Linked DNA regions of Homo sapiens: regions 1, 2, 3, 4, 5 and 7 are each linked to region 6. Evidence: promoter capture Hi-C in 16 types of primary human blood cells and fetal thymus (Javierre and others, 2016). All regions are on one chromosome and are shown on one strand. Each heading gives the region's core, a stretch centred on a gene start or on the middle of the fragment in contact. The rest is flanking DNA. Distances are from core to core; before and after follow the strand shown. Region 1 has its middle 110 kb from the start of FGF1. Region 2 has its middle 140 kb from the start of FGF1. Region 3 holds the start of LOC124901096 (a long non-coding RNA gene). Region 4 overlaps NDFIP1 (Nedd4 family interacting protein 1). Region 5 has its middle 180 kb from the start of FGF1. Region 6 holds the start of SPRY4 (sprouty RTK signaling antagonist 4). Region 7 has its middle 160 kb from the start of SPRY4-AS1.

Region 1 (4,157 bases), core at 428-2,927, 250 kb after region 6:
CGTCGTGTTGAGAAGTCTGCTGCCACTGTAAATGCCACTGTGGAGGACATCATTCTTTCCTCCAGCTATTTTTTTTTTTTTTTTTTTGAGACAGAGTTTCACTCTTGTTGCCCAGGCTGGAGTGCAAAGGCGTGATCTCAGCTCATCGCAACCTCCGCCTCCTAGGTTCAAGCGATTCTCCTGCCTCAGCCTCCCTGGGATTACAGGCATACTCCACCACGCCCCACTAATTTTGTATTTTTAGTAGAGACGGGGTGTCACCATGTTGGTCAGGGTGGTCTCGATCTCCCGATCTCAGGTGATCTGCCTGCCTTGGCCTCCCAAGGTGCTGGGATTACAGGTGTAAGCCACCACTCCTGGGTCTTCGAGCTATTTTTAAGATATTCTCTGTAGCATTCTTCATGCTCACAAAGGTATTCCTAAATGTGGATATGGTTTTATTTGTACTGAAGGGGACTCCATGTTTTTCCTGAACCTCAGGATTCTTGTGTTTCCTCAAAACTGGAAAATCATTGGTGATAATCTCTCCACACACCATCTCACCACATTTCCACGCTTCTGTCCTACAGGAACTCCTCCTCTCATTCTATTTTTCATGCCTCTGCCCTGCTCATTTATCTCACCACATGGCATTCTGGTTAATTTCTGCAAATCTATTTTTCTGTTTTCTGTATTCTCTTCAGATGTGTTCAATATATTTAACCCATACATTAGGATTTTTTTTTTTTTTTTTTGAGATGGAGTCTTGCTCTGTCGCCCAGGCTGGAGTGCAGTGGCTCCATCTCCGCTTACTGCAAGCTCCGCCTCCCGGGTTCACGCCATTCTCCTGCCTCAGCCTCCCAAGTAGGGGAAATAATTTTTTTGTATTTTCAGTAGAGACGGGGTTTCACCGTGTTAGCCAGGATAGTCTCGATCTCCTGATCTCGTGATCCACCTGCCTCGGCCTCCCAAAGTGCTGGGATTACAGGCGTGAGCCGCCGTGCCCGGCCACATAAGGATTTTTTTAATGGAGGGGGGACGTTTATGTCATCATTTACTTTTTAAAACAACTTTATCGAGATTGAATTTATGTACAATAATGCATACCTATTTATATTTATTAATATTTATTTTAAGTTCAAAATCATCACATTTATTGCTCCTTTAATTTCCCAAGTTTTCTTTTTTTAACTTTTATTTTAGGTTTGAGGGTACCTGTGAAGGTTTGTTACATAGGTAAACTCGTGTCATGGGGGTTTGTTGTACAGATTATTTCATCACCCAGGTATTAAGCCTCGTACCCAATAAGTATTGTTTCTGTTCCTCTCCTTCCTTCCATCCTCAAGTAAACCTCAGTGTCTGTTGTTTCTTCCTTTATAAGTTCTCATCATTTAGCTCCCACTTACAAGTGAGAATGTGGTATTTGGCTTTCTGTTCCTGTGTTAGTTTGCTGAGGATAATGGCCTCCAGCTCCATCCATGTTCCCACAAAAGACTGGTCTCATTCTTTCTTATGGCTGCATAAAAAAGTACATGTGGTACATATACACCATGGAATACATGGTGTATTCCATGGTGTATATGTACCACATGTTCTTTAGTTTGTCATTGATGGACATTTAGTTTGATTTCATGTCTTTGCTATTGTTAATAGGAGCACATCTATTTAAATTGTACAATTGGATACATTTTGATGAATGTATATACCCATGAAATCACCACCACACTCAAAATACAGAACATTTCTATCAACCCTAAAACTTTCCTTATGACCCTTTGGGAAATTTTCAATAATTATTTCTTCAGATATTTTTTCTATTCCCTCCTCTCTCCTCTTCCTCTGGAATTACAATCATATGTATACTGAACATCTGGATATTGCTCCCCCAGGTCTCTAAGGTTCTCTCCATTTTTCTTCAATCTTCATTTTTTTCTGTTGTTTGGGTGTGGCATTCTGTTGCATTATCTTCATGTTCCTTGATTCTTCCTTCTGCCATTCCCAATATTCAGTTAAGCCTATCTAGTGAACTTTTAAAATGTCAGATTTTGTACTTTTCAGCTCTAGAATTTCCCCCTTTTTTATTTTATATGTGTTTTAGTTTTAATTTCTCCACTGAGAGTTCCAAGCTGTTCATTCAATGTATACCACATTTTCCTTTGATTCTTCGAACATATTTATAATAACTTGTTTAAAGATTTTTGTCTGCTAAATGCAACATCTGGAGCCACTCAGAATCAGTTTCTATTGGCTGCCTTTTTCTCTGAGTGTAGAGTGCACTTTAATGTTTCTTTGCATGTATAGTAATTTCTGGTTGAAAGTTGGGCCTTAAGGCCAGGTGCGGTGGTTCATGCCTTTGATCCCAGCACTTTGGGAGGCCAAGATGGGCGGATCACAAGGTCAGGAGATCGAGACCACCCTGGCTAACACGGTGAAACCCTGTCTCTACTAAAAATACAAAAACAAAATTAGCCAGGCATGGTGGTGGGTGCCTGTAGTCCCAGCTACTCGGGAGGCTGAGGCAGGAGAATGGTGTGAATCCAGGAGATGGAGCTTGCAGTGAGCCGAGATCCTGCCACTGCACTCCAGCCTTGGCGACAGAGCGGCCATCTCAAAAAAAAAAAAAAGAAAGAAAGAAAGAAAGTTGGGCCTTATGGATAATACATTATGGCAACTCTAGATTCTGTTGTATTCTTCTGAGGACTACTGAGTTTTTGTTCTAGTAGGCAGCTGACTTGTTTAGTCTCCAACCACAAACTTTGTCCCCCTGTGATACACAGCAGCCAATATCTCTCTTCTCATGGCTTCCTATTGCTGCTTTTCTGCCTGCCCCTTTGGGGGTTTTCCCTGTTTCTGTGTAATTTGGTAGTTAGCCAAGGATTTCAGCAGAGATGGAAGTCACCTTCTTTGTGCACTTTCTTGCTTATAGGTGCTCCCTCTCCCTGATTTGTAGCTATTTGGCCGATTTTAGGCTGTCTCTGTCATTTCAAGGCTGCAAGATTCAATTTTCTGCCACCTGCATTGTGCATGGTTAGGAAATGTACCAAGTCTGTTTGTTTGTTTGTTTGTTTTTAAAAGGCAACACATTCACATTGCTCTGTATTCAAGGGGAGATTTCTCTCTGGTTTCTGTCTCCTTTTTCACCAGGTTCCTTAGGGTCTTTTACCACATATGTGTAGTTTAGCTTTTGGCCACAGACCTGGACAGAGTTTATACTCAGAGTTTTATACTTCTTCAGTGGTTTTTCTGCTGCCAGTACTTTTCCTGTAGACTTCTAGCTACTCTTCAGCCTTGAACTCCTATCTGTGGAACCTTTAGCTAGTAAGGCTGTGGTTTTCCATGGCTGTTTTTCACAGCCCTAGCTGTGAGGGTTGGGCATCACCCTCGGGTGAGGAAGATATAATCTTGAAATTCCTAGTCCTTCCTGTGGCAGTTTTTAAGATTAAAGTCTCCTGCTTCTATCTGCTTTTGGATTCTCTCCAGGGTCTTTAAATAGTTCTTCTTAAAAAAAGTTGTTTGTTGTTTTTTTTTTCCCCCTAAACCTGTTTTTATCATTGTTATCGGTGGGAACATTTCAAAACCACTTCAATCCTCTGCCATTTCTGGAAGTTTCTGCCTATTGGGTTTTTAATTTCAATGTCTCCATTTTTCATTTGAAGTTTTATTTAGTTACTTTCTGAATTAAATCTGCTAGTGTTTATGATAGCCTTTTTATTTCTCAATTTTAAGTCCTTTTTAAAAAATGTATTGGATCATTTTAAAGATGCTTATTTTATGGCCTGTATCCAGTCAGTGTCCTGAAGCTCTTGAATCTTCAGTATCTGAAGCTCTTGCATGTTCAGAAGTGCCTTTTGGTGTGTCTGCTGACTCTCTTTTAACTTTTTGTAAGTAATTTTTGAATTATGAGCTATTGATCGGGGTGCAGTAAACATGGAAACATCAAGCATCTTGATTTAGGGCTTTAGATCTACAGAGAGGCTTTTCTTTGCTGTCACCTGGTGTTCCAGGAATATCGCGGACCTCTTTCTTATGTTTATTTCTAAGGCTAAGGGTTCCTAGACCAAGCAGGTATAACTTTGTAACCCAAATCGTCTTGAGGACAGGCTCATGATTATAAAGTCTTGGAGAACTTTCTTCTTCATGGCACAGGGTTGAAGAGAGCCACATCCTCAGGCCAATGA
Region 2 (4,319 bases), core at 82-2,581, 220 kb after region 6:
TGATTTGAAAGTGGGACATGAGAGTGGGAGCCAGGGATAGTTTTGAGGCTGTCAAGCTGAGCACTTTGCAGAATGATTTCCTGGCCATTTAGCGAGATGGAAAAGCAGGCTTGAGGAGAACTCAAGGGTTGACTTTGGGTATAGGTTTTAGAAGCTTTGTTGAGCCTGTAGGGAGAGGCCAAGTAGGCAGTCTCACGTAGGAGGGTGAAGTCCTAGCTTGAGACCTTCACTGGCATGGTGACCACTGAGCCCTGACAAGCCAAGGGCCCAAGAGGATGGGGCCAAACATGGGGCCAGTGTCAGCTGACACGGATGCCAAACCTGCATGATCACAGTCCTCAAGTCTGGAACAATTCTCCTACATAGTTACCAGGGAAATCTACCAGGGTTGAAATTCCACCCCTCTGAGTAATTCAGGGGCCTTATTTAGTCTGTTGTCTTCATGCTAATGTTCTTTTCCTTTATCTCTATACCCTTATGCTATTTATTGATCAAAGAACCATAAAGTTACTTGTTTTTAACAAGACAGAATACCACAGCATGGAGGTTTCACTTTAGGATTTAAACATTTTGGCTTTTTACTGCTAACTAATGGGCCTGCAGGCTAGGAAACATAAAAGGACCCTCATTTGTATTCCTAGTGAATAACCATCCTGTGTCTGGGAAAGCCTGGCAGTAAATGACAGGTAAGGCTGGGGCAGGGAAGCTTCAGGTCCCTTCTTTGCAGAGGCCTAATGGACCACCAGTCCCTAGACTGATTGATGTCAGGCAAGAACGTCCAGGGAGTCTGCCACTGTCTGCTCCAAAACAGGATTTAGTCCTTCCTAACCTTGGGAATTTCTGAAGCCCCAATTCCTTTATGACTGTTTACTATCCTTAGTCCCCTGGGATCTAGTATAATCAGCTGGTGGATTCCTTTTTCCTTAAACCTAAGTCTGAAGCCCCATGGGCCTTTCCCATAGCATAAATAACATTCTATTCCTGTACATATTGCCTCATTCACAGGAAGTAGTCTCTAAATTACATCACAGGCCAGTTCTACTGTATTCCATTGACGTTTATTATGGAACCATTGTAGGAATGACATGGTTCCTGTCTCCAAAAGCTAGCTAGCATATCCTATCCATTATGTTCAAGATTCTGGAGCGGGTGGCAGAAATGGGAGAAACACAGGTGACTGAAATCCCAGGATGTCTCATCATCCTCTCTAGGTTGTAGCAAATCTTTTCTCCAAATATTTCCCTAAGTTCATAGGGGTGAGTGTATGACAAAGCATGATAACTTAGCTATGCCGTTGGCTGACATGATGGAATGCTAAACACATTTATCTTTGGAAAGTAGATTAGAGGGGAAAAAAGTGGGTTATATCAGTGTTGCAGAAAACCACTAGTCATCTCCCAGTATCTACCCTTCTCTTCTTCTGTGGTGATAACATTAAAGCCCCAATTTTAAGCTGGGCATATGGCCACTTGGGATTAAGACTATATTTCCCAAATTCCCTTGCAGCTAGGTAGGCCATAAGACTGAGTTCTGGCCAGTGTGAGTAGGTTAAAGTGTCTAGGGGCAGCTCTTAGAAACCCACTTAAGAGGCATTGTGTATACACACTTTCCCCTTCTTCTTCATGCCTGCCTTTGTCCTGCTGTCTGAAATGCAAATACTGCCATCTTGGTTGAGTCCATGGATGATGAAACAAGAGAGAAGGAACAGCCCGCCATGCACTGACTGTCGTCAAGGCTTCTTATATGATAGAGAATAAACTTTTATTTATTGGAGGGTTTCTGTTCCTCACAGCTGAACCTAATCTCAATTCAACTAGCTAAATATTCCTCCAATTAGAGTGCTTAGCGACAGGCTCCACAGTATCATTCTCAGCTGCTGAGAACAATGTGCCCATTCCTGCCGAGTCATGGAATCTTTACTCCAAGAGATGGTAATATATCATCAAGATCATTCTAAAAGCTTAATGCAGTGAGCATCACTTAATACCTGAATACCAAAAAGTGAAAATAATGGTTTCATGTCTAATGGGACTTGAGTTCACATGTCCCCTCAGCCACAGGGACTTGTGCTGGCAGACACCACTGTCCTCTGCTTTGGTATTTCTATCACTTGGACTCTAGATATAGGTGAATAAAGCCAACATGGTTTGTTGTTTTTTTTTTTGAGATGGAGTCTCGCTCTGTCGCCCAGGCTGGAGGGCAGTGGCGTGATCTCAGCTCACTACAAGCTCCGCCTCCCGGGTTCACGCGATTCTCCTACCTCAGCCTCCCGAGTAGCTGGGACCACAGGCGCCCGCCACCACACCGAGATAATTTTTTTGTATTTTTAGGAGAGATGGGGTTTCACCGTGTTAGCCAGGATGGTCTCGATCTCCTGACATTGTGATCCACCCATCTCGGCCTCCCAAGGTGCTGGGATTACAGGCGTGAGCCACCACGCCCGGCCAAAGCCAACATGGTTTCTAAAGACAGATGAGAGAAGTACCTACCATTTCCTGAGGCTGGCTTTACCAAGGACGTAACACGTGTAAATTATTCAAACAATACAGAAATGTATAGTAAAACGTGCCCCATATCCCATGACCCCTTATCTAAAAGTCATGATGTTAAAAGCTTTCAGGATATCCTTCTAGATATTTTCCATGTATGTAGAGCCCTTCCTTTTAAAAAGCACACATATACACACATATATATAAACATAAATGGGATTGTACTGCACACACTGTAATATACTTTGCTTTTACATTTAATCATAGTTCTAAACATCTGTCCAAAACAGCATATATATACATCGACTTCTGACTGCATAGAATTCCATTGTACAGTAGATGTACCGTAATTTATTTCACCAATTTCCTGTTAATAGACATTTGTTTCCAGAGTCTTGCTCTGGAAGTCTGGACAAAGATTGCTGCAACGGATTCCTTTGCACATCTATCTATGTACCAATACATTGGTAGACGTGATTCATAGAATTGGAGTTGCTAGGTTAAATCGTATGTTAAATATCTAAGTAGTGCTCCCTGCAGTTACGTTCCCAGCAACTGTGCCAAAGCTGCTTTTTAAACTCAGATGGAAACCACAATTGGACATTAACTTTATTTCTTATTCACTTATTACTTTTGTTATCTGGGTTTCTGTTCAGAGAAAGAATGACGTCTGACTTTTGTTCAAAAGACAAATGAGAAGCAGGTGAGTGATCTGCTTCAGTATAATGCTTTCTTTTGTTTAAAGTGCATTATGGGCAAAAGTTCTGTCTTATTGCTGAAAAGATGCTAGTGATTATTCTTATTCAAGAATTCAAGATATAGGCAAACAGGAGGTCAAGGCTGCAGTGAGCTGTGATTGCATCACTGCACTCCAGCCTGGGCAACAGAGCGTGACGCTGTCAAAAAAAAAAAAAGATAGAGGCATATTAAGCTCTCAAGAAATGATGGAACTAGCAGAAAATCATTGGAGAGGCAGAATAGGGAATGCCACCAGGAATATAAAACCTGGTCTTCTAGATCCCAGGCTACAGAGGGGTTATTTCACCACAAATACAAAATGACTTTGAAAATAGAATTATATTCTAAATAGAATATAGGTAATAGAAAGATACCTTATTTAAAGACTGGAAGAAGATCCACATTTAGGGCTCATCAATATACTGTGATCTCTGACCACCCAACCCTATACTTGACACTTCCCCTCTCTTCTCAGAATCTTTTAAAAGCAGTCTCAGAGTATATGCAGCAGTAGTAGTGGTGATGATGGAGATAATGGAGTTTTTTTGTTTGTTTGTTTTTTCTTTATCCCCAATATCCAGCGAGCTGCTTGGATAAATGCTTAAAACAAGATGAAAATCTTTGTCCTGGATCTGTACATCCGTGTACTCTTTTTGCATCTGCTCTGCTGATATTTTCATGCTCCCTTGACACCTGCCTGCTATTTTAGAAGAGGTCTTTGTATCAAAGGAGGGGTAGGGGAGTCGGGCATTTCCTCTGCACTAGCGAAAGGGCTGCGGGGGAGCCTGAGCCCCAGCCTCACTTCAGGTGGCAGAGGCCTTGCTGCTGGTCTTTCTTGGAGAGGCTGTCTTAGAAGTAGGTAGCACCCTCTCCTGGGCTAAATGCAAACGATCTCTGTGTGTCCTGAAATCATCTGGGATAATAGCAGGCATCTCCTTTTCTCTGGCAAGCTCTGCCCCATCACTGCCCCCTCCTGGCCCCTTCTATTTTTTTTTTATTTGAATGCCACACTGGACCATTTACAAGTCCAAATGAGTCAGATTGGAGATTCTAAGTAAGACTGGTTAGGGAGCAGGAACTTATTTGAGTACT
Region 3 (3,751 bases), core at 1,144-3,643, 160 kb before region 6:
GCTATGTGGCCAGGACCTAGAAAACCAGCTGCCAAGGGGACTTGTGACTGTTAGCCTAGGGCTTGAGCCCTCGCTCCCCATTTACTGGCTGTGTAATCTTGGGTCATTTGCATGTCCTATCCAAGCTTTGGTTTTCTAATCTGTGTGCTGGAATATTTTCTCACAGGGCCATTTTTAGGGAGGTAAAGTGCCCAGCATCTAGCAAACAGCTCTTCACAGCTGATCAGCTATAGTATTGGGTCTAAGGGCAGGACATGAAAAGCCCAAACCTATAATTCAAACCGAGGGAATTCATTTCCTTTTCAGGACCGTATAGCTCTCATAAACCCTGCCTTTCCTCATTCCTTCTTTCCTAAATGTCATTAGGCCATCCCTGATAAATCAGATCATTCTTATCCTCCTAAATTCCTGCAGCCCAGATGAGAATATGATTTACTATTGCTTTTCTGGTAATATTATCATATGTTTATGTGGGAACTTATATACATGTTCATTTGATCTTCACAGATTACTATAAAAGGGATTATTTTGCGTTCTTTACCACCAAGCAACCAAAGCCTCCCTCCCCCGGCAAATAATTTTCCAACACTCACTAACATCAAAACACTCTACAGATTCAATAAACTTTGATTCTCATTTCCTTTCCTGAGTTCTATAGGCTGAAACTCTGGCCTCTTTTTTGCTTAGTCCATTTGTATTACATTACAAGACTTGCCGTATACTATCTTTGTATGGATTTAGGTATTCGAAGCAGCCTTTGAACTTCTTATCCTTTGCTTTGTTTCTTTCTGCACTGGCCTTACATTCTCTGCTCTTTTCCCTGCCCTTTCCATGTCTTCTTTGCCGCCCTCTCGACACCTCCCCCTTCCCCTACGTTTCCAGTGCTGCTTAGATCACTCTTGTTACTTCTCTGTCCTAAATTCCTACACAACTGTAGATAGGGCCATTTTCTCAGTGGCCGCTCTCCCTTTCCTTTCTCCAAATCTTAACCCTGGGCCATTTGAACCCTAGTTACTTCTTTTTTTTGTTTTGTTTTGGTTTTTTGGTTTGTTTGTTTTGAGACGAAGTCTCACTCTTGTCCCCAGGCTGGAGTGCAATGGCGTGATCTTGACTCACTGCAACCTCCGACTCCTGGGTTCACGTGGTTCTCCTGCCTCAGCCTCCCGAGTAGCTGGGATTACAGGCGCCTGCCACCGTGCCCGGCTAACTTTTGTATTTTTAGTAGAGATGGGGGTTTCACCATGTTGGTGAGGCTGGTCTCGAACTCCTGACCTCAGGTGATCTGCCCGCCTTGGCCTCCCAAAGTGCTAGGATTACAGGCGTGAGCTACCGCGCCCGGCCTAACCCTAGTTGCTTTCTATCTTCCCATTCCATCTAGCCGCATCCAACAAGAAAACCACATGCCTGCTTTCTCTTCCTGAAGCTCTCCAAGGAACGTTCCTGTATGCCCCTGGATAGATGGTTCCAGCCTGTGTCTGTGCCCCCCAACCCAGTCCTGCCAATCCAAGCCTGCCCAGATAGGGCCTGCCTGTTTTCCCCTTTATTGGGGGATCTGGGGAGCTTTTCACAGTGGTGGCATTTGTCACAGTGTTCACAGGCTCACCTCTTCATGCCCCTTCAGTACTAGTTTGGCTTGGCCATTAAACAGAAAGCATTGGGGTGTCCTCTGCTCTTTGTTCTCTCTCACTATATAGATCACCTCCAATGGCATCTGCATGAATCTATGACAACTCTCGGGCCTCCATGGAGAAGCACCTGGCTAGTCCCAAATTTCATAATCCTTCTGATGCTTCTGAATTACCTTCCACAAAACACTAGGATTCTATAAACTTTTAATTGGAATTTTATCTTTTAAAAACAGCCTTAATCATGTAATAAGATGTATTTTCAAATATGTGTTCAATTGTGTGGTTATTTGTGATCTCATTTACAGACATGAACAAATACTAAAACAATATATAAATAAATTTACTCAGAGTATTTGGGATCTCAGATTTTGTTTTACAAAAAGGGTTCTGCAGCTGAAAAAAAAATGGCTTGAAAACCACTGCCCTAAGTAAACACTCATCTCTTACTTTGCCTAAAACTGTTAGACCGTTATACATTTTTTTTCCTCCGTCAATCTTACAGGGGTTTCAAAATGCCCTGATTTTGCAAAACTTATGAGCACATCTAAAAAGTCACTTTCTAAGCCTACTATCTCCAAAAATCAACTGTTTGTTCTTTTTCAGACTTGTTTTTGTGAATTTATTATTTTTACATAGGTAGTACTAGCATACTGGCACAGCCCAGTGAGATGAGGTCTCTTAAGCCATTCTGTTTATATCAGATGTTAAATTTTTTAAATAGTCTTTGCTGCAGTGTAGATTATCTTGTCTTTTTCTGCTTTTCAGCTCGTTCTGACAAATGCCCCATGATGTTTTTGTTTTTGTTTTTTGAGACTGAGTTTCACTCTTGTTGCCCAGGCTGGAATGCAATGGTGCCTTCTCGGCTCACTGCAACCTCCACTTCCCTGGTTCAAGTGATTCTTCTGCCTCAGTCTCCCGTGTAGCTGGGATTATAGGCGCCCGTCACCACACTCGGCTAATTTTTATATGTTTAGTAGAGACGGAGCTTCACCATTTTGGCCAGGTTGGTCTCGAACTCCTGACCTCAAGCGATCCGCCCTCCTCGGCCTCCCCAAGTGCTGGGATTACAGGTGTGAGCCACCACAACTGGCCTCGATGATTTTTTTTTTTTTTTTTTTTGAGAAGGAGTTTCGCTCTGTCGTCCAGGCTGGAGTGCAGTGGCGCAATCTCGGCTCACTGCAAGCTCCGCCTCCCGAGTTCACGCCATTCTCCTGCCTCAGCCTCCTGAGTAGCTGGGACTACAGGCGCCCGCTACCACACTCGGCTAATTTTTTGTATTTTTAGTAGAGACGGGGTTTCACCGTGGTCTCAATCTCCTGACCTCGTGATCCGCCCGCCTCGGCGTCCCAAAGTGCTAGGATTACAGGCTTGAGCCACCGCGCCCAGCCGATGATGGTGTTTTTAAAGCCAACTTCTAATACCTCTTTTTTCCATTGCTTCATTGCCAAGAGGAATAATTAGACTGTTGCAACAATTATGACAAAGGCGTCCTATACCCTTGGTCTTCTTTCATCCATAGGGCATCCAGAAGAGACCTGGTTTCTCTGTTGATTGGAAGTTCACATCAAATTCCTTGACCCTGGGATTAAACCTACAGTAAACATGTGTATTTTTGTGTTGCAGATGCGTATCATAGATGGATAGTAATGAATACCATTTATTGAGCATTTATCATGTGCGAAGTACTCTGCTTTCTTCTTCACAGGTAGATTTAATCATCTCCCCAACCCTTTGAGGTAGGGAATACTGTGATCCTTGTTGTATATTTTTAAAAAAATGGAGACTCATGTTAACTGACTTGCCCCTTACCGTCCTTAAGTGGGGAGGCTGGGATTAATTTGGTTTGTGTTGTTAGAGCATGAACTCTTTAACAACAATAGAACACTCATCATCTTTCCTGTGTGTGCACCTGCTTCCATTTCTTTTTATTCTCCTGTCCCTTCTTGATCTACACTTTAACACATTCCTTTCTCTTCCCACAGGATTCCCTTTATTGAAGGTGGGAATGAGGGGGATTCTGGACTGCAGGCACAGGACATCTGCCCTCCCACAGCAGCCTGAGATGTTTTCTTCTTTGTGCATGTTCCCCATGAAGTGGGCTCATACCCCTCCATCAGTGTGCC
Region 4 (4,176 bases), core at 1,677-4,176, 180 kb before region 6:
CCAGGAGGACCCCTTGAGCCCAGGAGTTGGAGCCTGCAGTGAACTATGATGGCGTCACTGCACTTCAGCTTGGGTGACAGCAAGACAGTGTCTCTAAAAACAAAACAAAACAGTTCAGGACCTGTTTTGCCAAAACTGACAGAGCCTTGCATTGCTGACCCTACATTTTACTTAGAAAACATAAATCATTCATCGCACCATCTACCACCTCCTCAACAGCATCATGTACTCTATGATTGGTCATTAGAATTCTAAGGAAAGAGAAATAGTAATTTTTTTTCCTCTATTGATTATTGAGAACTTCAGTAATAAAAATGACCAACAGGAGAATAATTTAGAAGAAATAGTTCCTTGGCTTGCTTATTTTCTAAACTGTACCTTTAAGAGAAAGGCTGACCACCCGTGTTTCCCCAAGTCAAATCCTGAATGGACCAAAGAGGAGCCCTTAAGCGTATGTTCAGATTGATTGCTTATGGCATAAATAATTTAAAGAAATTTAATGGATTGATTCCCTTTTAAAGTTTCATGGGAGGAGGTTTTATAATCCTTCATCATTGATCATTCTTGCTATGTACCATTTGCTTGTAAGCAAAAAATAAGAGTTTGGCCCGGCGTGGTGGCTCATGCCTGTAATCCCAGCACTTTGGGAGGCCGAGGCAGGCAGATAACTTGAGGTCAGGAGTTCGAGACCAGCATGGCCACCGTGGTGAAACCCCGTCTCTACTAAAAATACAAAAATTAGCTGGCTGTGGTTGCTCATGCCTATGATCCCAGCTACTTGGGAGGAGAATGGCTTGAACCCGAGAGACGGAGGTTGCGGTGAGCTGAGATCGTGCCACTGCACTCCAGCCTGGGTAACAGAGCAAGATTCCATCTCAAAAAAAAAAAAAAAAAAAAAAAATATATATATATATATATATATATATATTAATAAGAGTTTGGATACACTTATGAGCATTTGTGCCCAATATTCGGGTCATTTTGGGAACTTCCCTTTTGAAGAGAACCAGTTTAATGGTGTTTTGTCTTGCAGAGCTCTGTGCAGAGCTCCCAAGCTGGCTGCTCTTGAGCTATAGTTAGCCTATAGTTTATTTGTTCCACAGTTATTTTTCAAGTTTTTTTAAATTAGTTGCCAACATTTTAAAAATCAAAATTATTTCACATAAAACGCCTGAATGTTTTTACTTTTCTTGAAAGTTGGAATATCAAGAAAAGCTAGCCTACATTTCACATGGCACCCTTTGGCTGGAGCTGAGTTGTTGCTGTCTCCTCCATACAGGTCATGTGCCTTCCAGTTCAGTAAGATCCCACCACCATACCCCAACTTAGTATTTGAAGGGGTAACCCCTGCTCAATAGTCACTTGTTGCTTTGGGTCCCAAACAGAATGATGTTCCCCAAGCTCAGAGCTGACAGCTCTTGGTTACTGCTAAAAATCAGTTCAACTGTCCAAGTACCATTTTCTACCACTGAGTATCCCAGTAAAAGTATTTAAAAAAAAAAATGTGCTAAAGGCTCAGAGACCATCTCTGAAAGAGGAAGGCCAGGAGGAGTATCTGAGTTTCCACTGGAGGGGCATATCACCTCTCTGCTGACAGTTTTAGGAGGTACAAACTTTTGTGAATGTATAGATTCTGGTGTAGTCACACAAAAAGAGTCTTACTAAGAATAGAGAAATAGGCTGGGTACAGTGGTTGACACCTATAATCCCAACTCTTTGGGAGGCTGAGACAGGAGAATCACTTGAGCCTAGGAGTTGAAGGCCAGCCTGAGCAACATAGCGAGACCCCTATCTCTACAGAAAATTAAAAAATTAGCTGGGCATGAACCTGTTATCTTAGCTACTTGGGAAGCAGAGGCAGGAGGATCATCTGGGCCCAGGAATTCAAGCTTGCAGAGGCTGTGATCATACCGCTGCACTCCAGCCTGGGCAACAGAGCAAGACCCTGTCTGTTAATAATAATAATAATAATAATAATAATAATAATAGTAGACAAAGTTTCAAGTTGAGACGATGAGAATTGCTGTAATAGATAAGGGGATCCTGACATCTAGTGGACAACATTATATACTGTCGACAGAAAAAACAGCCCATGACAAGGAAGGTTACATTTTTTCTTTTTACTTGAGAAAAACACAGTTATAACCTCTTTTTGTTGTTGTTGTTGTTGTTGTTGTTTGGAGTTCATTATCTTGGAATGCTTTTTTGGAACTCAATAGGTAGATTTTGATGTTTCTCAATGAGGCTTTCATATGTAAATGTTTGGCTCCATCTTATTTTTTATTTCCTTTTTAGACCAATTCAATTCTGAATGTGCAAAAGACACTATTGACTCTTACATTATACCTTCTCATTGAAGGATGGATAATTTGGTATGAAAATCCTCTGCAGATTCTGGAGGAAATTGCTAATGTTTTGATTACCTTTAGCAGAAAAATAACAATGTATCGCTATCAGGAGAGGGATTTCTGGGGAGGGGACTTAACATGGAAATTATAAATTCATTCATGACTTTTCTTTTTTAAATTAGGCTTTCTCCTGTTTCTCAGAGGATTTATCAATTATGCAAAAGTTCGGAAGATGCCAGAAACTTTCTCAAATCTCCCCAGGACCAGAGTTCTCTTTATTTATTAAAGGTATTAAAGAAAAAATTTATTCTAGTCCCAGTGTAACCATGTGCTACATTGTAGATTTCTGTTCAGTTTTAGAGTAAGTATCTGTGATAGGGGCATATAGAGAAAGTAAAGAAGGCACAGTCCCTGCCTTTTAGCAGTTTCTTGTCTAGTAACAGGGATTTTTACAAAAAGCTATTGATAAAGTCAAATTAGAAAAACTGCCATAGGAGAAATCATTACTTCATGCTTTGACAGTGTGAAAGAGGCAGGGGTCTTAGCAGTCATCAGAAAGCTGGGATATTTGGCTGCTTGACTGAATTCCAGCATCCTGAAGCCACTGCTTACTGTTGCACCAGTTCCAGAGGATGACATTCAGAAGGAACCCTTCAGGCCTAATCACTCATCTCTGCCCCTAAATCCCAGAACCTGGAGAGACTGTGTAGTACTTTAAGAACTCCTTTTGTCTGGGCTGCTGACAAGCCCACCAAGTCTTCCATCTTTTAAAATTGTCATTGAGGCTTTCCCCATGGCTTTCTTCAGGTTGACATTCTGATACCACTCTAATGTGAGGAAGGTCAAACTCAAGAAAAGAGGAGAAAGGACCTTTTCCCTTGCCTAGAACAGGAGGACTAAGCCCTGCCAAGGCTCTTTGATTCACACATGATTTTCCCCAGAGGCTGACACTCCATCTTACATCAATGGCTGCCTGAAGGAAGAGGTAGAGAATCTTGAGAAAGAGTACACCAGAGAGAGCTCTCTGTGGTAGCAAGTTCTAATAGGCTTTCTTGGACTTGGCTGTTTGTTCCTTGGGGCTTTGGGGACTGTGTTAATCATAGAGTGGAACCTTGAGCACCACCTAGAGGCCAGTCCAGTTGAAGGTCTTAGGCAAAGCATTATAAAGGATAGGTGGTGTAGTTCAGATAAACTTTACATGATAGTGGAGAGTGTGGGGAAGAATTTCAGAATCATCTGAGGCAGAGTGAAGAGCAAAAATAGGGAAGTATGGGGCTTGTTCAGAGGATAGCAGCTTGATTGGGGCATAAAGGAGTATTGAGGGTCAAGGCTAAAAAGTCAGGTTGAAACAAGTTTCTCAGATACCTTGAGCACCAAGCCCATTTGCAGTAGAACCATGAAATTGATAGAGCCAGCGACATGTTGGGTCAATGCAAGACTAAGCCCACGTGGAGCACGAATTTGTTCTGTACTCGCAGAGTGTCAGTTTATATAGGCAATCATATACTAATCGTGAGGTTCTCAATTTTGAAGACTTGTGGTGGTCTCAGGAGGTATGCTTCAAGAAAATAAAGCATCTACCATAGTTGATTTTCCAGGTGATAGAACAGCATTGAAAGCTTTTAGGCAACAGAATCATATAATGAGACCCTCTTGAATATAACAAACATTTTTTCAAGCATAGTATAGTAAACTAAAATTAACACTCATGGAGTTTTCCATGTGTCAGATAATATATTAAGCATTTTACATGGATAATTAAATGTATGTAGGTAAAGAAGGCTTAAACTGCTTTTAAAGTTAGTTTCATTATTAAAAAAACTAGTAT
Region 5 (4,336 bases), core at 613-3,112, 180 kb after region 6:
ATCTTAGAAGTTCTACATTTCATAAAAGAAAACCGAACACATCTTTTTATGAACTGATGTGAGCATTTGGAGTTACAGGAACACTTTTACATATGTGAGCGTTTCTTGCTACGGCCATTTTCAGTGTGAGCTGTGTCTTGTGTATCTTTCACAAAGAACACAGTGCCTGAGGTGAAAATTGTAATGGATGGAGGGAGAGAGAAAGAAGGAAGGGAAGTTTCCATCATTAACAAGAGACAGAAGAGTGTTTTTTAGACTCTAGAGGGCATGTGAATCCCCAACAGAGCTACTTCAGAAAGGTAGATTCTCGAGCCCCACTCCCAAGAAATTTTGATTCAGCGATGGATATTGTCAACAAGTTCCCCCGGTTTTTCCGATACAGGTAGCCCGCAGGCCTCACACTGAAAAATGTTGTCATAGGAACTGTGACTATGACTAATCAGTTTTACCCTGTGGAGCATGAAGGTGGGTGTATTAGTCTCTGTCAATGTTTTCCAGAGTTATAGTCGCCTCTCTCTATAGAGAAGGAGAGTTGTTTACAGAATTATGCAGACTGCTGGTGAGGGGACAAACCGATTCACCATTTCTGCTTTCAGCCGGACTCAGAGTTGTAGTTGCTGAAATGTCAGTATCTATTATTCCTCAGGGACCTGATGACTACAGAGCTGACGACTACAGACCTGACATTTTCCTTTTCTCGAGGTTCTTAGCTTTCTTTCAGATTCAAGCCAACCACGCCACATGACTTTCTTGAGGGAACAAGAAAATCTAGTATATCATAAATATTAACTTTTCAGAAGTCTCCACTGCCAGAGCGTGTTAGGCAGCTTATTCAAGGTGCCGATGTTATTGTGCTATCTGCCCCATGCTCAGCTCTTTTCTGTAATTCATATTTCTTCCAAAGTGGACTCTGCCACTGACTGACTGGATTCCTTTCCAGACGTTTCGATCTCCTTCCTGTCTGACATTTCTTGGCTCTCAACCCCCCACATCAAGTTGTATGTGGCCGCTGTCGTACAGCTAGATTAGATGATGTTTACTTTGTTCTGCAGGAGTGTTTGTCAGGGTTTTATGTAAGATTAAAGAAATCTCCGTAAGTTAAGACACCGTGCGCCGGGCTGCCTTCCATGCACTGGCCTTTGGCAGTCGCAAAAGATCTTTTACCCTGTACCATCTTTGGCTGCTTGACCGAAGCAAATGCCTATTGCTTTTGGCTTTTTTATGTTTGTTGCTGTTAGAGAACTCAGCAGAAACCTCCAGATAAACGCTTTAGTTGTCCAGGTAGGAAACCAAAGTGGACCCTGGGCAGTTTTATTTGGAGACCTCTTCTGCTTTTGTGATTGTGTGTGTGCTGGTGGTACTGGAATACAGGTCTCTGGGTTGGAGAGCTTGTGTTCCGGATGCTGGCAATTTGATGTGAATGTGCTAGGGGAAGTCTGTATAGATTATCTTATTGGAAAGGCCAGATGGCAGCAAGCTCTAGAGTTCTAAGTCCCACTTTGCTCAAAGGTGCCTGAGGAATAGCAGCCTACTGACAGCTTGAAGTATGGTGCACTGGATAATTGGCTTCCTCATTTAGTAATTTGTCTGCTTTCTTTCCTCTTCCTCTGCTTCCTCTCTTCTTGTAAACTGATAGCCTCCTGCCTCTTCAATAGACTGATAAAGAGTCCCTGAGCAGCAGCTAAAGGGAGGGGGTGGCCAGAGCCCCAGGTGGAGAGAGTCATTTGGAAAACTGACACAGAAAATTACCATCCTTCTTTTCTGCTTTTCCTCTGCTTCGGTATCTCGATTTTAGTCTCTCCCTTTCATTTTCCTGTTATCTTCCATCACTGTCCCTTGCCACTTCATCTTATATATATATTTTTCTTTTATGGAAAAGAAAATTTCTTTGCTATTTTGTCTCTTTCTTTCTACTTTTTTCATCTTTCCCTTTTTTTTCTTTTATCCCCCTCATTCTGTTCCCTTTGCCTTCTTTGCTTTTGCAATTGTTCTAGTTAAAACTTAATTCAAAACAGGAAATTGCATCACATTTATTCAGGTTAAATTACCTTTTCCTTTTTTCATGTTTTTCTCTCCAAGGAAGAAAAAAAAATTGAAAAGCACATTTCCGGCTCCTTCTGGCACCTCCATCCCCTCAAATGTGTTTATCTTTAGGTGTTGGAAGTCTCAGGACACAACATTTCTGCTTCATTGAAAGTGCAGATGCACCCTCAGAGCTTTTACCCTTGGACCTGGAGAATGACGTCTGCTTTCACTTAATAAGTCATTTTGTTCTCCAGGTGGAATTCAGATTATTCCGTGGCAAATTTAGGAGAAGACCTGCCCCTGGTGCTGGAAGAGTTGGGTCAGATGCCTTAGCCTGTTTGCAGTCTGGAGGGTTGACATTGAAGTTCACCAGCTCCTCAAAATGCCCCCAGATGTTGAGCCATCCTGACAACAGAGGTAGAAGAAGGTCTCTGCCTCTGCCTTGTGGTAGACCAGTTGACTCCCCGGTCACCTACTGTTCCTTCTACCATCATAAGGCAGCCTGAGTGAACACCACTGACAAGGGACCTTGTTCAGAGGTAGGGGGACAGCTGCTGCATTCCACTACTCATCCCCATTTTTTTTTCTTATAGTTTACAGAGGCTGCCTGGGCCAGTGGCTCCCATTTTGTTTTAGAGAGCAGAGAATGGACCCTGGAGTCAGGATACTCCAGTTCAAATCCCACCTCTACCAACTGTGCTGTGACCTTAGGCAAATCACTCTGCCTCTCTGAACCTCAGTTCCCACCTGAGCTTCATGAGGAACTTTTGGCTGTTTTGTTCATAGCTGTATCCCCAGCATCTATCATACCTGACACATAGGAGGTGTTCAATTAAATACATTCCAGGGATGAATGTAGTGGTTAAGAACAAGGACTTCATGCCAGATTGCCTGAGTTCAAATTCCAGCTTGCCACTTACTAAGTATGTGAACGCGGGCAAGTCACTTCATCTGCTGGGCTCAATTTCTTCATCTGGGAAGACATAAACGATTGGCATTGATGTCCGAAGCCTACCGTAACAGATTACCACTGACTTGGTAGCTTAAAACAATAGGAATGTATTCTCTCAGTGGCGAAGGGCAGAAGTCCAAAATCAAGGTGTTAACAGAGCCATGCCCGCTCTGAAGGCTCTAGGGGAGAATCCCCTCTTGCCTCTTCTAGCTTCTGGTGGCACCAGGTGGTCATTGGCTGTGGCAGCATCACTCCAGCCTCTGCCTAGTTCTTCACTTGGCCTTTTCTTCTTCTCTGTGTCTTCTCCTCTTCCATCTCCTATAAAGACATTTGTCACTGGGTTTAGGACATGCCCCAATAATCCAAGTTAATTTCATCTTGAGATCTTAACTTAATTATACCCACAGATATCCTTTTTCCAAATAAAGTCCCATCTACGAGTTCTAGGGGTTAGGATGTGGTCATGTCTTTTTAGGGACCACCATTCAACCCACTACAGGGTTGCCGTGTTGATCAGTTGAGCTAATATATATCAAATGCTTAGTTAGGACAGTGCCTTGCATGCAGTAAGAGCAAATTAAGTGCTTTTTAAATTTTATCTTCAATTTTTTAATTTTTTTTTTTTTAAGAGATAGGGTTTTGCAATGTTGTCTAGGCTGGACTCAAACTTCTGGGCTCAAGGGATCCTCCTGCCTCAGTCTCCTGAGTAGCTGGGACTATAGGTGTGAGCCACTGCACCTAGATTAGTGCTTTTTCAGATCTTACAATAATCCTATAATAAAAGCTGAGACAGAAGTTGTAAATTACTACAGTGTCTGGCACATGGTAAGTGCTCAGGGGATGTTAGTTATTAATTTAACAATTTTGGACCAAAGGCCTACTGTGTGTCAGGTATTCTGTTCTAAGTGCCAGGAATGCAGTAATAATAAATAATAAGTAATTAATAATAATAAAGGACAAAGAACACCAAAAAGGCTTTCCCCTTGCCTGTGCTTACATTCCAGTGTTTTTGTGAATACAATTCTCACCAGCCCCACCATCATCATAAATGCCAGCCTTGTAATACCAAGCTACCCAAACAAGATGCTGAAGAATGAGTTTCCTATGTGGAAGGGGTCAATGAAGACAGCCCATAGTCAAACCAAATTTCTGCTTGTGGTTTCAAAAGGATGAAAGATCCATTTTAGCTTTAGTAAAACAGGGTTCAAAGGTCTGGAGTTTGGTTTACTAGGGAGTTTTTTTGTTTTGTTTTGTTTTGTTTTGTTTCCAATTTGTTGAGATTTGGTAGACAAGCAAGGGGCATCAGTCTTGTCTGAAAGTTCTGTCAGCTCATGGTCTGGAGGTGGTGCCCAGGCTGCT
Region 6 (3,818 bases), core at 151-2,650:
CCCTATAAGCCACGCAACCATTTTCTGTCTCCCCTGCCTCTCCTGCCCACAACCCCCTGCCCCCAATCAAGGAGAATTGAGAAACCGTCTTCTTGCACAAGAGCAGCTACTGTCTAAATGCTTTTTGATCGTCTGCATGGAGGGGGAACTGGGCACAGCCCTGGACCCAGTGATGGAGCCAAGCTCTAGCTGCCCTGGCTAGCCAAACCCGCCCTCACCCAGCTCACTGTCCCCGGGGTCTTGGCGATTCAGAATTTGTCAGAACATACCGTCTCTATCCTCTTCTCTGTGATGTCAAGCCTGGTACCACCAAGAAGGAAGGAGGGAAAGCAGGAGCCTTATCTCTCCTACATTCGCAACCTCTTCCTCCAGCTCCCACACGCCTGGTGTTATGTAAACGCACCTTCAACCCCCACCGCAGCCCTAGCGCGGCCTGGGGGCTCCGGGGCCTGGCACAGCTCGGTGCCCGAGGATAGGGAGGTACAGGGTGGCCGAGGAGCCTCAGGCCTTACAGAGGCCAGGCAAGAAAAAGTCAACTGCAAGGCAGTTGCATAGCATAAAATGCGGCAGCGGAGCAAAGGTCAGACGGCGAGGAACCGCCTCGCCAAGGAGAGGGAGTAGGAATGCCCAGTCCTGAGCCAGCCCCTCGCTGACCATCGAGGGAGAGGCAGAAGGGGAGGGAATTCAGTCCGTCACGGCTCCGAAGAGAAAGAAAAAATCTACGTCGAGCATAGGCCGCTACGGCGGGCTGGGAGATACACGGCAAAGCTGGCACCGTGGGCACCGAGCTGGGAGGTGGGCGAGCCGCCCAGAGCGAGGGCGCCCCCCGACCCAAACGGTGGCTCCTGACCAAGCCCAGAGACGCCCGTTCCAGCGTTCGAGGCGGATGGTGGCAGGAGAAGGAAAGAGGCCAGGCCAGAGGCAAACTCCCGGGACACGCACGGGGCTTCCCGAGTCTCAGAGGGCGGGGAAGCCGGGCTTGGCAATGCCCAGGGGTCGGAAACGGCGGTGCCAGGCTGTGAACACCCCCGGCGCCGTGCCGGCCGGGCCGAGGGCGTCAGGGAGCTGCGGCGCACCGCAGCGACTCAAGGAGGCGCAGGCTGAGGGAAGGAACACTGAGGCGCGCCTAGAAATAGCGCACCATTTGCCCCAGCCCAAGGGGGGAGTCGCGTCGCGGCTCAGAGAGGGGCAGTTTCAGATCTCCAAACCAGCCATGGACTTACTTTGAGGAGCTGCAGGGTCACAAGCATCGCCCCACGTCTGTGTAAATCCTGAAGCCGGGGCAGGTTAGCCGCCGCTGTACTCGCAGACGCCGGTCGGAGGAACCGGCAAGGCTCCCTGCGCTCCACAGCGCCAGCTCCGCGCTGTCAGCTCAGCTCGCTACCTCCGCGGCGATGTTGCAACCACTGCCTGGGAAAATGGCTTTTTTATGAATGGGAGGGAAGGGAGCGCCAGTGCGCACGCGTGCCGTTCGCGATTCTATGAATGGGTGGGCACAACAGACCCTGAGCGCGCATGCGCTCCGCTCCTTTTTTTATGAATGGGGGGCGGGAAAAGATCTTAACCCGTGATTGCTGGGACTGGCTCAAGCTCCACCAGGAGCCGTCGTTCTTTTACAAAGAGGGGTGGAGGTTCCAGTGGAGGCTGTTGTTGCCTTTTTTTTTTTTTTTTTAATGAATGGAGGGCGGCGGCGACTGCTGCAGCTGGGCCAGCTGCGCGGGCTGCACCCCCTCCCAGCCTGCGAGAGGAGGTAAAGGCCACCTTCACGCCACTGCGGGCCTGGGCAGGAACCGTCAGTGTCGCTGGGGGGTGGGGGACGCTGCGGCCTCCGGATCCCGGGTTGAGAGCAGGGTGGTGGAGGGCACACCTAGATCTGGGGATCTCTGCCCCCCGCAGGCAGTCAAAAGGGGGGGCGGGAGGACCCCTACTGGGGGCCTTCTCTTGCTCTAGACCAGAGACGCCAGGCGGGAGGGGTCTTGAAGCTGCGTTTACCAAAAATTAGGAAAATGTCCATCATTCATATCAAAGGGTGGGGTGAGGATTGGTGAGTGAATCTGGTTCTTTTTCCTGAGGCTGAATCTCTCGTGAGTGCTGGCCGCCCCTCCCCCCATTTCTTGGGTGTAGACAGTGACTGGGCCCAGGCCTCTTCCGGCTCCAGTACCCCCCGGGGCGATTCTGGCAACTCAGCCAGAGGAAGCCTGGCCCTCGCCTCCCAGCGTTCCCCCCGCCCCCCGCCCCAGTGCAATGTCCGCAGTGCCCGGGCGTCTGCCCGCTCTCTGTCGCCCTAGCTAGGTGTCCTTTCTCTGTCCCAGTCGGTTTCCCAGCCCTCACAGGACGCTGGCCTGAGGAGCCTCGGTCCACCGAAGGCCCACGGCCCTTCGCTGTTGTAGGCGCCTTTCCCCAATATCCCCCACCTCTCACCGGCCTCCCCTCCGGGGAAGTGGGAGCGGCCGAGAACTGGCCAGGTGGATGGGTGGAGCCGGCTGCGCCGAGGATGCTGCCGGGGTGGCCTCAGGATTAAATAACAACGGGGCTCTTGAGCCGCAGAGGAAATGGAAATGGCTGGGGATCCTTTCTTCGCTGTTAATGATGGTGGCGTTGGGGGGCGGGGGTGAGGATCAGCTCAAGCCGGTGAAAAGAAAAGCCCCCGCCATTAGGCCTGACTCCAGGAAGGCGGGGAGCCCTCGCAGCAGGCCCTGCTCCTCCCTGGAACGGAGGAGCCTGTAGCCTCCGGGAAGTCCGGGGCGGGGGGTGGCTTTGATGCGTGGATAAGAGCAGAGTCTGGGCCAGGGCTTGGCCCTGAGTCCCTTGTAAGGTCTGTCTTGCCGCTGTTCTGGCCGCACGGGGAGATTGTGTGGCAGTCTTTTTCTTCCTACGCCACTATAGGATTGTGCTTGGCTGTTGTCAGAGGAACCAATGAAAGGCTCCCAGCCCAGGGCTGAGGTCTGGCCTAGGGCTGGGGCTGGGACTCTAGAGGCAGGCAGCCCAAGGTCACCGAGTCCTAGCCTAAAATGCCTTCTCACCATTCGGCTCACCCCTCCGTGTACTTACCCAGCTCCTGAGGGCAGAGCAGACTCTCCCCTAGGGAACCTCAGCCTTCCTTTCAGGGGCGAGACCTTTCTCTAAGACCAAGAGAACTCTTCGCCAGAAAAATGGGTACAGTTGTCCAGGACTTCCTTTTAAGGCTGTTGAAGTTCAGTATCGCCCTCTCTGTCAGCTGTAGAAACTGAGGCCAAGGGTCCTGCACCGGGTATATGGAAGAGCTGGTAAATTGTAGCACTTATTTTCTAGGTCTTTGCAACCTGGCTTTACTTTGCTACCAACCCTTCTCAGCATCACAGACCTAAAAACCTGTTTCTCGCATGTCATTTAAGCATTTTAAACAATGAAAGTTGAAGCAGTAATTTTCCAGCTGGTGCTCACCCATGGCCCTTGCTGAAACAGTCAGAAGGATGGGAATAAATAAATCTTAAATCTATGGCAGAAAAGGAGGATTGGAGGAGCCGCGGGGAGGGGGGTTGCTATCCTGTTTTCTTTATTAGAGAAACTCAGGAGACAGACAGGATTACATTTCATAGTCTTTCTCAGCTTCCCTGAAAGAGAATGCGAGGAGACCCCAGCCTGTGGTGGGGAGAAGGAGGAGCTCCCAGTCTTGAGCTGGGAGGGGCCTCTGATGCTTAAGTACAGCGAGATTCAGAGCGTCTAGAAGGGCTCTGGAGGTCATATTCTGGTTGTGCTTGGAACCTAAGCTGAGGAATGGTTTGGAGCAGCAGTTATGAAAAATTCATTCATTCATTCATTCATTCATTCACTCATTC
Region 7 (4,113 bases), core at 582-3,081, 160 kb after region 6:
CGGCTCTCAATGGCACCCCTTTCCATAAATCCGTATTGTTAATTGTAGCGTTTGGTTTTGGTTTTCATCAACATTCTACTCTCACAATGTGGTATTGTCTTGGGATGGTCTATCTGGGCATCTGGCTCTGCCAGGAGAAGATGAGTTTCTTGAGGACATGGACTGCCGTGTCCCCAGCGTGGGTGGCCATGCCTGTCGTGCAGGGGACTGTTGATCAATGATAATGGGTGCATGCATCTAGCAGAGACACAACTGTTCTGTACGGGCAGGAACCCCAAGGGATGGTCTGTTCTGTTCTCCGTCTCTGCACCTCAATACCCCAAAATTGTTTCTGACAGATGGATGTTTAGCATGTTCTTGAAGGAAGAAGCGTCTGTGCCCCCTCTAGGGAAATGCACGCTGGGTTTAACCGCATAATTCAAAACAGGTGAAATGATGCCGGCATACCCACCTCTTCTAGCCTGGATTCTGTTTTAATGCCCTAGCTTTTACAGGAATAAAAGAGTATTGATTTTTCCACTGCAAGGGCTGTAGCCAGATTTGTTATTATTTTTAAATCAGAGATACTTTTTAAAACATGGAAATTTTTATGTTAGCTAAATCCTAGTTATCCCAGGAATGCCTAATGTCAAATAGTAGCCTTTCCTGGCATATTTCTCCTCCTGCATTTTTTAAAAAGAGCTTTCTGTTTGTTTGTTTCTTTTTGCCTCATAGCAGCTCTGCCATTAAATACATAAGACACAAAAGAGAGACAATCTAAATAATTATCCTTAGGAAATTTTATTAAGATACGGGTGGGAAGAGGGGGCACAGAGGCCACTGCCTCCTTGCGAGCTCAGATGCTCACCGATGTTGCTGTGTATCACCCCTCGCTTCTGCTCGCCCTGTATCAAAACATAGTTTAGGGAAAAGGTCACTGTGAATTTAGAGATGACATCTGGAATTGTATGTCAAGAAGCTTGAGTGTGTTGTGAGTGCTCTTCTGGTGGGCAGTTCCCTACTCCTCAGGGTTCCTCCCCTGGATCACAGAATGTGGACCACCAAGACACCCATGCTCTGGGGTCTCTGGCAGCCCTGTAATGCTGCAGCCACAAACCATGAGGGGCTTCTCTTCTTTTATCTTCTTTGTCATAATCAAAACCTTGACCTGTGACAGTGAGCTGCCAGGGGACTCCATTGCCTTGGAGTCTCCCTGGCTCCCCAGGATAGAAAGCTTCATCAGAAAAGAAATGCCCACTGAAAGTTGCTATGGCAGATGTCCCCCGTAAAAGAAACCTGAAGACCTTGAATAAAGGTGGCACCCAAGTGCCTACTCTGTTTAAAGAATGTGTGCAGCATCCAGCAAACAGGAATGCATGCTCATTTTCTTTATGTGGATTGGTGTTAACGGTTGGGTGACATGCTGGGGCTTTGATGACACCACTTGCATCTGTGAGTTGATGGGGCATCTGCAAGAGTGGAGTTAAGTTTAGTCCATCTTGGTTATGGTGGATGCTTCTGGAGTGAGTTAAGCACAGGAAAAGGGGCGGAACACTCACCCAAACCAGGATGTGTACCAGAGAGGGCTCCATTGTCTACAGCTCTCAAGGCTGTGTGTGATGCTGTGACTGCCTCCCCTCCCAGAGCTTCCTGCCTCCCAGGAAGAATGATCATTCCACTGTGCCTGCACATTCCTTCCCCTCTGCTGATAGGAACTTAGCCTCCAAGGGTTTGAAAACCAGCCTCCAGGGCTTGCTCTGCTCTTTACCCATTGCTGCTTATAAGTCAGGACCTGTGAGTGATAAACCTCTCCACCCCAGCCTTCACACCAAATGGAAAAAGATGGGCACCTTGGAGTATTCCTTTGAAAGATTACTGATTTCTCCACCCCACCACCACCTCCATCATGAAAGGTCCATCGATAGCCATCAGATTTCTGAACACACTCAGGTTTAGTGTCCCCTGCTATGCACCAGCCTTGGAGGCCTGGACACCCCTCCTGTTATTGGTGGATCCAGCCAGTGGTGCCTGACTCTTTTGCTCCTCACCTCCACCACCTCCTCTTGGACTTGGTTCTGTTGTTCATCCCTGTGTGGTACATGTCTATGGCCTTTCTTTCACCAGTGGCTTATTTCTCCCATTAAGATGTCCAAGTCTCACTGATCCTTAAAAGGGACCATCCCATGGCCCCATATCCTCTCTAGCCTCCACCCCAACTTTCTTTTCTCTTTCTCACCCAAGTAGTCTATGTGAACTCTGTCCACTTAACTCTCATCCTCTACCCAACTCATCGCTCTCTGGCTTCTTCCCTCACCATGCGAGGGAGCAACGCTCCCTGTGGCACCCACAGCTCATCTCCCCAGTGCTGTGTCTCCTTTGGCTCCTCCTGTCTTTGGACCTCCCTGCTGCACCTGGCCCAGGTGGGCACTGCCTCCAGCTTCAAACTCTCCTCTCTTAGCTTTTGAGACTTCAAGCTTTCTTGCTTCTGCCCCAATTTATTTGACCATTTCTTTCTCTTCTATATGAATTTCTCTTCTATTTCTAAAAACTTGATGGCCCCAGGGATACTTCCCTGACTGCTTCTCATTCTACTTCATCTCTGGGCAATGGCACCCACAGTCAGGGCTTCTGCTGCCACCTAAATGCCGGTGACTCCAAGATGTATATCTGCAGCTCAGACCTCTTCCCCATCAGAGGTGTCAGATGGAAATGTCCTCAGGGGCCAAGCAGGTAAAGAAAATGAATGAAACTGACTGTGAGTGTGGCAGACCAGAGAGCTGCTGGTTTTAGCCAAAGTGGGTGGCTGCTGCTGGGCTCCAGCCAACTCTTGATGCATAGGAATTCAGAGCCAGTGTCACCAGATTTTCCAATTTTCCCACAGAAGCTAGAAATACATAATCCTATTTGGAATCTCTCAAAGAGTAAATGTTGGTTCAATTTTTTTTTTAACATCTTTCTGAACCAAAGCCCATCCGAGAACTAGATCTGACTATGGACCACCACCCTGGGATCATGGTTTGCACTCCACTGACTGTTCAATGTCTTATTCCAGTGCCCATGGGCACTTCAAATTGAGCCTGCCCCAGACCATCTCTTCCCCAAACCCACCTCTCCTCCCCACCGTGTACCTTATCTCAGTTAGCAAACTTCCTTCTAACCTGCTCACCCAAGCTGGAAATATGGATGAGGGTGTCCTTTCCTTCCTCCTTTCCCTCCTCCTCCCACATTCACTAAACTCTACCAACATAACTTGCTAAATAAATCTTACCTATTCTTACTTCCCCATCCCTTACCACCATTATTGTAGCTTGGGCTGCTAGCATCTGTTGCCTGGCCCAGTAGCCTTTCAAGAGTTTTGACTGATGATTCATAGCAGTTGACTCTCACCATGTGTAAATTATGCTAAGCCAGACATGTAAACTTATCCCCTGACAATGATTGATTTTGGAATGGGGTGTGTGACCCAATCGGGGCCAGTGAGATGGGAGGGAGGGTTTGCTGGGAAGCTTCTGGAAAAGTTATCTTGCTAAGAAAGAGATACATAAAATAGGCCAGGCATGGTGGCTCACGCCTATAATTCCAGCACTTTGGGAAGCCGAGGTGGGTGGATCACTTGAGGTCAGGAGTTCAAGAACAGCCTGGCCAATATGGTGAAACCCCATCTCTACTAAAAATACAAAAATTAGCCAGGCATGGTGGTGTGCACTTGTAGTCCCAGTTTCTCAGGAGGCTAAGGCAGGAGTATTGCTTGAGCCCGAGAGGAGGAGGTTGTAGTGAGCCGAGAGCATGCCACTGCATTCCAGCCTGGGCAATGGGAGTGAACCCTGTCTCAAAAAAAAAAAAAAAAAAAAAAAAAAAGATACATAGAAGAGATGGCTCCCTTCTGTCTATGGTCATCACTGTGCCTGGATGCCTGGATGTCACCCTGGGAACTGCTGCAGCCATCTCTTGAAGATGAGAAAAGGCAGCCTGTAGGCAGAGCCAGCCACAGAGAGAAGTGGAGTGATGAGAAGGAGAGCGGTAGGGAAACTGGGTCCGTGGTGATGTTGTTGAGCCACTGAATAAGTCTTCCGTGTTGTTTGTCATCTCAGAGCTTCCAGCTATACCAGATAATACGTCCCTTGATAAATTCAG

Evidence for each region. The method cuts DNA at HindIII sites, captures the fragments that hold promoters and counts their contacts. A CHiCAGO score of 5 or more calls a contact.
Region 1: a fragment that was not itself captured here is called in contact with the fragment with the promoter of SPRY4 in region 6 in 1 of 17 cell types (activated CD4 T cells); the score reaches 5.0 in activated CD4 T cells.
Region 2: a contact is called between a fragment that was not itself captured here and the fragment with the promoter of SPRY4 in region 6, in 5 of 17 cell types (endothelial precursors, M2 macrophages, activated CD4 T cells and 2 more). The highest score is 18.1, in endothelial precursors.
Region 3: a contact is called between a fragment that was not itself captured here and the fragment with the promoter of SPRY4 in region 6, in 3 of 17 cell types (endothelial precursors, M2 macrophages and activated CD4 T cells). The highest score is 10.1, in endothelial precursors.
Region 4: a contact is called between a fragment that was not itself captured here and the fragment with the promoter of SPRY4 in region 6, in 1 of 17 cell types (endothelial precursors). The highest score is 5.4, in endothelial precursors.
Region 5: a fragment that was not itself captured here is called in contact with the fragment with the promoter of SPRY4 in region 6 in 1 of 17 cell types (M1 macrophages); the score reaches 5.3 in M1 macrophages.
Region 7: a fragment that was not itself captured here is called in contact with the fragment with the promoter of SPRY4 in region 6 in 1 of 17 cell types (endothelial precursors); the score reaches 6.5 in endothelial precursors.

The regions. Positions count from the first base shown.
Region 1 is chr5:142,573,700-142,577,856 of GRCh38, forward strand. No RefSeq gene overlaps it. Among named protein-coding and RNA genes, the nearest start is that of FGF1, 110 kb to the right of the region's middle. The HindIII fragment of the contact is 7,425 bases long and covers 1-4,157 here.
Region 2 is chr5:142,544,806-142,549,124 of GRCh38, forward strand. No RefSeq gene overlaps it. Among named protein-coding and RNA genes, the nearest start is that of FGF1, 140 kb to the right of the region's middle. The HindIII fragment of the contact is 1,254 bases long and covers 705-1,958 here.
Region 3 is chr5:142,160,631-142,164,381 of GRCh38, forward strand. The region is part of intron 2 of LOC107986455 (a long non-coding RNA gene); the gene reads right to left. LOC124901096 (a long non-coding RNA gene) reads left to right here and starts at 2,944. Exons shown (of 2, transcript XR_007058978.1): 1 at 2,944-3,333; 2 at 3,611-3,751. The HindIII fragment of the contact is 4,540 bases long and covers 124-3,751 here.
Region 4 is chr5:142,142,041-142,146,216 of GRCh38, forward strand. It overlaps NDFIP1 (Nedd4 family interacting protein 1), which reads left to right. Exons shown (of 8, transcript NM_030571.4): 7 at 2,531-2,636. The coding sequence ends at 2,634. Among named protein-coding and RNA genes, the nearest start is that of NDFIP1, 35 kb to the left of the region's middle. RefSeq lists an enhancer at 3,338-3,427. The HindIII fragment of the contact is 2,078 bases long and covers 1,888-3,965 here.
Region 5 is chr5:142,507,208-142,511,543 of GRCh38, forward strand. No RefSeq gene overlaps it. Among named protein-coding and RNA genes, the nearest start is that of FGF1, 180 kb to the right of the region's middle. The HindIII fragment of the contact is 5,361 bases long and covers 1-4,336 here.
Region 6 is chr5:142,323,621-142,327,438 of GRCh38, forward strand. SPRY4 (sprouty RTK signaling antagonist 4) reads right to left here and starts at 1,401. Exons shown (of 2, transcript NM_001127496.3): 1 at 1,224-1,401. SPRY4-AS1 (SPRY4 antisense RNA 1) reads left to right here and starts at 1,673. Exons shown (of 4, transcript NR_120664.1): 1 at 1,673-1,750. RefSeq lists enhancers at 1-363, 364-1,326, 808-867. The HindIII fragment of the contact is 6,861 bases long and covers 1-3,818 here.
Region 7 is chr5:142,483,420-142,487,532 of GRCh38, forward strand. No RefSeq gene overlaps it. Among named protein-coding and RNA genes, the nearest start is that of SPRY4-AS1, 160 kb to the left of the region's middle. The HindIII fragment of the contact is 1,240 bases long and covers 1,212-2,451 here.